Regions from separate parts of the Homo sapiens genome. Here region 1 is linked to region 2. The links are contacts of gene promoters, found by promoter capture Hi-C in blood cells and fetal thymus (Javierre and others, 2016). All regions are on one chromosome and are shown on one strand. The core of a region is centred on a gene start or on the middle of the fragment in contact, and the rest is flanking DNA. Distances in the headings are between cores, read along the strand shown.

What was found. The method cuts DNA at HindIII sites, captures the fragments that hold promoters and counts their contacts. A CHiCAGO score of 5 or more calls a contact.
Region 1: a contact is called between a fragment that was not itself captured here and the fragment with the promoter of SGO1 in region 2, in 1 of 17 cell types (total B cells). The highest score is 7.2, in total B cells.

What each region holds. Positions count from the first base shown.
Region 1 is chr3:19,537,949-19,542,029 of GRCh38, reverse strand. No RefSeq gene overlaps it. Among named protein-coding and RNA genes, the nearest start is that of MIR4791, 230 kb to the right of the region's middle. RefSeq lists a silencer at 434-603 and an enhancer at 1,217-1,326. The HindIII fragment of the contact is 358 bases long and covers 1,904-2,261 here.
Region 2 is chr3:20,184,214-20,188,217 of GRCh38, reverse strand. It overlaps SGO1 (shugoshin 1), which reads left to right and starts at 2,012. Exons shown (of 8, transcript NM_001199251.3): 1 at 2,012-2,270. It overlaps SGO1-AS1 (SGO1 antisense RNA 1), which reads right to left. Exons shown (of 4, transcript NR_132785.1): 4 at 2,103-2,243. RefSeq lists enhancers at 1,535-1,594, 1,615-2,294. The HindIII fragment of the contact is 754 bases long and covers 1,735-2,488 here.

The DNA.
Region 1 (4,081 bases), core at 833-3,332, 650 kb after region 2:
CAACCATGTTTAAGCAAAATGAGGAAAAACATTAGGTAGTTTTTCCATGGGACACATTGTCTGTAGTCTTGAGGGAGGAACTTCTGTCTCAGCTCATGGTTCACAAGACCTACAATTGTGATCTGCTCTTGTAACCAACAATTATTCTTTTCCCAAGCTCAGACTCATGAAACTGAGATATGCCAATGATATCTGAGGAATAAAATCCTTCACAATGATATCTCTAAGCTAAACTAGAAATGATAGAATAGACGGCATTTTGGGGAGCCTATTCTAATCAGAAAGTGATATGTCCATCAACTAGTATGGTTTTAAAACATAGAGGAGTATTTGAAGTGGAAAGAAGATGATGAGTCTCCAGGAGGAAGGTTGATATTGATACACATCTTGTTATACACCTATACATAACTATATGCACATTCCTTCTTGCTTAAACCCTACTTCAGCCAATGCTGGGTCCTTTGTCGACTAGACTAGAGCAGTAGTTCTCGAACTTTAGCTGGTATCAGAAGCACCACAGGTTGCTGGGCCCTACCCCCAGAGTTTCTGATTCTGTATGTGTGCTACCCACACAAACTAAATCAAACTCTTTGTGGTTAGAGCCAGGAATCTGTTTTTTAAAAGCAACATAGGTAATTCTAATGGGTAGCCAGAGTCAAGAACCAGTGTTTGGGTATTTCTTTTTTTCTTTTTCTTTTCTTTTTTCTTTCTTTCTTTCTTTTTTTTTTCAGACAGAGTCTTGCCCTGTCTCCAGGCTGGAGTGCAGTGGCGTGATCTCTGCTCACTGCAATCTCTGCCTCCTGGGTTTAAGCGATTCTCCTGACTCAGCCTCCCAAGTAGCTGGGACTACAGGCGCCCGCCACCATGCGTGGTTAATTTTTGTATTTTTAGTAGAGACGGGGTTTCAGCATGTTAGCCAGGATGGTCTCCATCTCTTGACCTCGTGATACACCCACCTCAGCCTCCCAAAGTGCTGGGATTACAGGTGTGAGCCACCGCACCCGGCCTTGTTCAGGTATTTCTAAGCCTTTAACATGTGCACAAATTACCTGAGAATCTTGTCAAAATGTAGATTCTGATTCACTGCTCTGAGATGGGGGTCCAGGATTTTGCATTTTTAACAAGCTTCCAGATGAAGCTGCTGCTGTTGTCCCGCAAACCACACCCTGCGAACCAAGTGTGAGAAATGTTGTCTTCTTTACCCCTTTTCTGTAGACGTGGTTTTTGTGTAAGTTAACAAGAGATATGCTAAGTGATCTAGGCCCAGGGCTCAAATACCTTTGGGGTACTGGAAGCCAGAGTTGACAATTAGATTTGGTTCCACAGGTTGTCTGATTATAGCAGGAGGAACTCTTATGACTCATTTTGGTCAATAAGTTATCATGGCAACTTTCGGAAATCTGTGTTTCCATCTGAGGGCTTCTGGACATCACTGCCAATCATAGCAAGGGGCCCCAAAGATGCTGAGTGTTGGCCATGTGGCTGCAGCTACCCAGAGGGCTCTGTGTTCCCCAAAAGATGTGGCTGAGTTTGAGCCCCTTCCTTATTAGCATTTAATACTGACCCCCATGCAGAGTTCAGAAATAATTCTCTCTCAGGACAAATAAACCATAGTGAAGAATAAAGCTACAGGAGTAGCATAAAGTTCAGAGTCAGCACTGGTTAAAAAAAATTACCATGGCAAGTAAAAGTGCCAAAGCAAAAGGGTACTCTTTACCCTGGAGGAAATTCTTAAATGAAAGTGGTCCCTTCAACTTAGTATATTAGTTCTTTACAAAAATAAAAAGCACAGACACACTTTTAAGTCTCACTTCCTCTTATTTTATTCTTTGTTGTACTCAAATATATCACATATGTATGTTCTATTTTTATCAAGCCAACTGTGAAAAAAAACCCAGAAGCTTAGCTTCAGCGTCAAATTCCATCCCATTTCCAGCTTCTTATCTCCATAAAGGAAAAACCCAAGTTAAAAGGAAATAGCTTAAGAAGGCATAGTTTTGCCCTTTGGACACATTTTCCCACCAGCTGTTTTTTTTCTGGAATGAACAGCTTATTTAATTACCTGCAATGACAGGTATGTAAGTGCTGGTCTATCTCTGCCTCACTGTGCTGTCCTCATGTCTTTTATACTGTTTATTCAGGGCTTGGTGAATGACACAACTCAAGGAATAGGTTCTTTCAGGACACAAGCTGCAGGGAGTAACATTTAGCTTATTCCCTCTGATGAGACCTACTCACACGGTGGGCTACTAAGGGAAGCTTTGAAGGCATCTGTGTGAAGTGGCAGACATTTCATAAGCTCTGCTTCTAGCCAGAGGAACTGTGGGTAAGAGGGCAACAACATTTGCCACAGAGAAAGCTCTGAGGCTTCTGGCTGATAGTGCTCAGGTCTTCTGTGGCCAGGGATGGTGGTTGTGACATATATGTGTGTGATTTCTAAAGCAACAGCAAATCTCTATAGAAAAACTTTATGGGGAAAAATGGTATGTGTTTGTAGAATATATTTGTGTTAGTGAATAAACTTCCTGTATCTTTCTGTAATTAAAGAGTTCAAAATAAAACTTCACTGAAATTCAGATAGACATATTAGAAGCCACACGGGTTGGGGATAAGGTGGCTGGGGGCAGAAACAGCATGTTTTTCTGCCCTGGTGGCTCTTCAACAACTTTTTTTAAAAAGGTAAATGTTGACTTGATTGTTAACACTGTGATGAATAGACTGTAGGGGACATATTATGAAAGCTACTTTGTGACCTAAGCAGAGAAAATGTCAAAGAGAGGACTCATTTTCCAGAAGGTGGCCTGGAACACTGAGTGAGAGGGAAAAGGAGGAAGCATGAGGAAGGGCCAAGGGGAGAGGAGGGAGCGGGAAAGAGAGAATGGAGAGGATGTAAGTGGGAGGAGGCTGGAGATAAAGGGAGAGCCAGGAAGAAGTTGGGGAAGAGGAGAGGGGGGGCAAGGAAAGGTGAAAAAATCAGGAAGGAGAGGTAAGAAGGAGATGAGGGGAGGAGGGGGAAATAGGAAAGGAACCAGGGGATGAAAGGTCAGGAAGATAAACTGACATTTGTTTAGCGTTTATTGTACGTCGGGTAGTGTGCCTTCACAAAAATTACTTCATTAATTCTCACGAAGACTCTGAAAATTGGATATATTTTATTCTTCAAGTTTTAGATGAAGGAATTGAGGCTCAGATGTCTTAAATAACTTGTCCATATCACAGAGCAAGAAAAAAATGGTTGGAGGCAAACACTCCTTTGTGTTCTTCCAAAACTTCTGCTCCTTTCTCAGCTTAATATTTATTTGGACCATTTGCCTTTCTATAAAGTGAAATAAATAGGCAAAGGAAAGCCTTTTGGAAGAGCCCTTAATAGAGCCTATGCCTGCACTTGTACCCAAGCTCTATTTTCGGTGATGATGGTATCTAAGAGAAGACTACATTTGAAGTACTATATACTTAAAAAAGAAGACATAAAAGCAATGTCTTAAAAAGATGACCTTAGAAAATGAGCTATATATGCCATGAGAATAAGTAGCTTTAGCAAGAACTATTTGGTGCAGGCTGTTTTCATTGTTATGAATAAAATCACAATCTTAACATTAGCAATTCCATTTCACATAGGGGACATCCACAGCAACTGTCATCTGCTGACCAAATAGTTATCTTGCCTCACATACAAATATGATTCCTATCAGATAACTGACCAATTTTTGAAACTTCAGAAGGTATTTTCACTTTTCTTTTTTCTTCTAGAAAATCTAAATGAAACAAGAAAACAAAGATCTATAACAAATCAAGAGGTATAAGTGGTGTAAGACACATAGTAGACAATCATTTTTCATTGAAGTAATTGATGGGTGTTCAAAGCTCTCTTGGAGAAAAGATATCAGTTACTTTGATAAAAAAAGGTCATTGATGTATTTGGAACTGTACAGAAAGAAACTTGTCAGTTTTAATTGGTTTGATTCTAGTTGGTCCATCTTCCCACAGAACCAGCTCATTATAAAACGAAAGGTTGTACTTCTTAGGACAATGTTTTCAGAGTTTATTTCTTGGAACATACATATTAGAATCACTTGGGGAC
Region 2 (4,004 bases), core at 763-3,262:
GAGGCAGGAGAACTGCTTGAACCTGGGAGGCAGAGGTTGCAGTGAGCTAAGATGATGTCACTGCACTCCAACCTGGGAGACACAGCAAAACTCCGTCTCAAAGAAAATAATAATAATTTCAAGAGGGCAAGGGTGAGCCCTTCTGAGCACTTTGTACTTAGGTCCCTAACTACAAAATAAGTGGTTCATGGAGGCCATTTAGTGCGCATCCTGAACATTGTATGACATGGGGCAAGAAACAGTGACAGACACACACATTGCATGAATCACATCTGCTCACAAGATTGCTCCATTGTCTCATCAGACATCACTTACAAAACATAAGTTCAAATATAAACTCCTAAGCATTTCAAGACGGCAACAGCAGAGCATTAAACCAAATGTACAGCCCTTCTAAGCACCGGTTGCCTGCTCATGAAGCTGGCCCTATTCTCTGCTCTCATGTTCCACTTCATAATTTTCTGACCTCAAACAACAAAAAACCTCTCTGCCCATTCCTTCTTGATGCTTCTACACATATAAGCCACATTGCCCAGTGGCAGTAAACTGAGGGTTAATGGAGTTGGTCTGGTTAACTTGGAAAACGAGGGAGTTGTTGGCTGGAGAAGGGTGTTTCAGCCTCTTCCACTCAAGCCAGGATGGGTACCCAGACTAGAGCAAGCATGTGTTAGCTACCTTTAAAAAACAACAACACACCTTCATAAAGAATGCCTAGATTCAAAACATTTGTTTCGTTTTCATTTATTTGTTCCTTTATTGTCCCAGTGAATATTTACTACTTACTTCAAATTGCAACGAGATGCTGACAATTTAGCTATGAACAAAGCAGATGTAGTTCCTGCCCTTATTCAACTTCAAGAAACAGGCAATGAACGACAAGTCAGTGTCACAAGGAATACCAAGGGGAAAATGCAGGGCACTAAGAAAGTGTAAAGCAGACACTCAGGGGCTTTAGGGGTAGATAAGTCTTTCTGGAAGAATTCATCTGTACAGTGAAACTTCAGTATACATAGGAGTAAGTTCGGCCAAGGGAAAGAGTGTTCTTGACAGAACAGCATTGGCAAAAGTGGCAAGAATTTTAAGAAAATTAAAGAAAATGTACAAGTGATGGAACCAGGAATCATGGGGCTCTTTAAGGACAAAATATCTTAAAGGAGTTTGAAATTCACCTTAAATGCAATAGGGAGCCATTGTAAAGTTTCCTATTTGATACTTGTTTTGTAAAAATATTAATCTATGAAGAATATAGGGAGTGGAGTCTGCGGTCAGAGTGGGTACTAGTGCAATTTAGGGAATGAGATTAGGCTGGAAGCTGGATTGGGGGGAAAAAGATGGGCATGAGAGAAACTTGGAAAGCAGAGTTGAGAAGATCGTGTGACCGACTGGACGGGCAAAGGTTAAGAGAGGATAAATAATCATTAAGGACGATTTCTCAGGCTTCTAGTCGGTAACTGGATGGATGTTGGTGCCATTTCTCGAGAAGAGTTAAAGAGCCAGAGATAGCCGGCAAAGAGAAACATGGAGCTAGAATTTTCAGGTATCTGCAGTTTCCCTAATACCTTTTTAATCCAGAATTTGCTCCTTGTTTTGGTTTTAATTCCTCTAAAAGCTGCTTCCGTGTTGCAAGCTGGCTGACCGCTTTAACAGGCAACCAAAGAGATTCTTCTCACAAGAGGGAGGCTTTGAGCACAACCCGGGACATTTGAAGCTGTCAGACTGAAGAAACAGGAAGCTTTGAACTACCTATCACACTCGGCCTTAAAGGTTTCGGAGTAACTCCACCCGTAAAATCCCCACGACTCTGATTAGAAAGTCCCGGCGGGTCGCCGAGACCCGACCGCAGGCTCCGCCCCAGGGCCAGGTGGATGCCCGGATGTGGACTTGAGCGAATGTGCGTCACGTGACGTCGCCTGGCGGGGCGGGACTCTGCCTGCGACGGTGGTGTTGGGTGCATCCTGCGCCACGTGACCGCCTCCCAGCCAACCAATGGAGGAGCGAGGCGGAAAATTTCGAATGTGGCGGCGGTAGTTCCAGGCGACGGCGGACGGTGGTACGGTCCTGGAGGGCCCAGTGCGCGGGGCTAGCCGTGGCTGGAGAGCTTCGAAGAGCCTTGAAATGTGAGGAGGAGGAAGATAGCTGTTGCAGAAGTAGTGGCCAAGGTATCGTTCTGGACGCGCCTGCGGCAGGAGGGTCGCCGCGTCCACTTCCGCCAGCCCCACCTCCCCCCGGCCTTCCTGGAGTCCCTGAAAGAGGAAGAAGTAGGTTTTAAGGTGCGAAACAAGGGCGTAGTGATCCCTGTTTGACTTCCCTTCGGTTTTCAGTATCATTCTAAATTCGGTGGCCGAAAGCTCGGGCCGTGGAGTCCCACTCGCCGCGCTTTTCGCCGTTCAGCCACTCGATCTGCGCTTTCAGATGTTCCGGCTTCCATGGAGACCCTAATTTCCTACTTTGCAAAATTGTGTAGATTAAGTGATGTGCAAATAAAGCTTTTACAATAGCTAAAAGCCTGGCTCAACGTAAGGACACAAGAAAATTGACAGCAGTTCTTTGTGCAGCGTGATACCGTTGACGTCCTCCTTGTCCAGGCCATTCTCTTCCTCACTTACCCTGGAGAGGCCGGCACTGACTAGTATCCTACCTGGCTGTCTTCGCAGCAGGACTAATTGGAGAATTATGGACGGAGATCAAATATGCTAGGTTCTTTAAATCCAGAGCGCTTACACGAGTACTGTACAGATTGAGACCGTCATCTCGCGCTGTGGTCTGTCTTTGCTTTCATCCCTTCTGTCTACCACACCCCCTGCTAATAACCATCGCCTTATTTAGACAGGATATAAAACTTTTGATATGGCAAGTTTCTTTTGTGATTTTTAACTTGATTAAAAGTAATAACGAAAGCTTTTTAGGTAAGGCTTTGCCTTTAAAATACCTTAACTAAACTAGATCCGTTACTTAATCTGTATGACTCTCAAACATCTCCAATTCTAACTTAATTGTGTAAAACAACCCCTTTACCGTTCGTGCTTTTAAAAATAGCTACCCTATCTCTGCTAGGAACCTCCCAGTACATATTGTATATACCTTGGTAGAAAGAAAGTTCTTAAGTGGTATCTACAATACCTATATTTAAGATTCCAGACACTGCATAGAGGAAAATAAGGCCTGGAGGAAATACTCAAGATTAAGTGTAAGGTTTAGGAAAATATTTGACTATCGTAGAGGAGATGAAGATATCCTTTGTAGTGAAAATTCTGTGCATAGATTGTTATTGGAAACAAGTCTTTTTTTTTTGCAATTTTAAGATCTGCAAAGTGCAATCTAGCGTAAAAGATGTTTGTGAAAAGTGGTTTGACATGTTTAGTAGCATGCTAAAGCCTACCTGATTTGCAACGTTGAAAGATTAAGTATAGTTATGTATTTAATACTCAACGTTTAACTGTATGTACAACAATATTTAATGTCTGATTTGTTATGTTCATAATTTACTGGGAGTTAACAGCCCTAACTTTTAGCCACAGTTTGAGAATACTAGAGTGTTCCTCTGCCCAAGTTCCTGCTCTAGCTCTGTACTTGTTACAATAGCCTATTAAAATTGTATGTAGTGCTACATAGTTTAAACCTCTAAGGAGTACCTTGACTTTCTTGAGACTGTGTGCATATCATAAGTGATAATTGCGTTTAAAGAGTATGGAAAAATAGTTGAATGACCTAATCTGATGAATTAATCATTAGAGAAGAGCTGGAAAACAAAACCCAAATATATAATTGCCTCAGAACTAATGCTGTAAGCTTAAGCAGTAAAAGTTGGTCCTAAACATTTTCTATAAAAAGTGTAAATAATGCATCAAAATATAATAATAAGCATTTTCAATAGTGTCTGGCATATACCCCACAGTGAGTATTTGTTAAAGAATGAATAAGTGGCATATTGTGGAATCTTTGGGTTGGAAATCTATATTCAATAAACCTTTTCTATAAAGTGCCTGAGGAGGAAGAGAGAATAT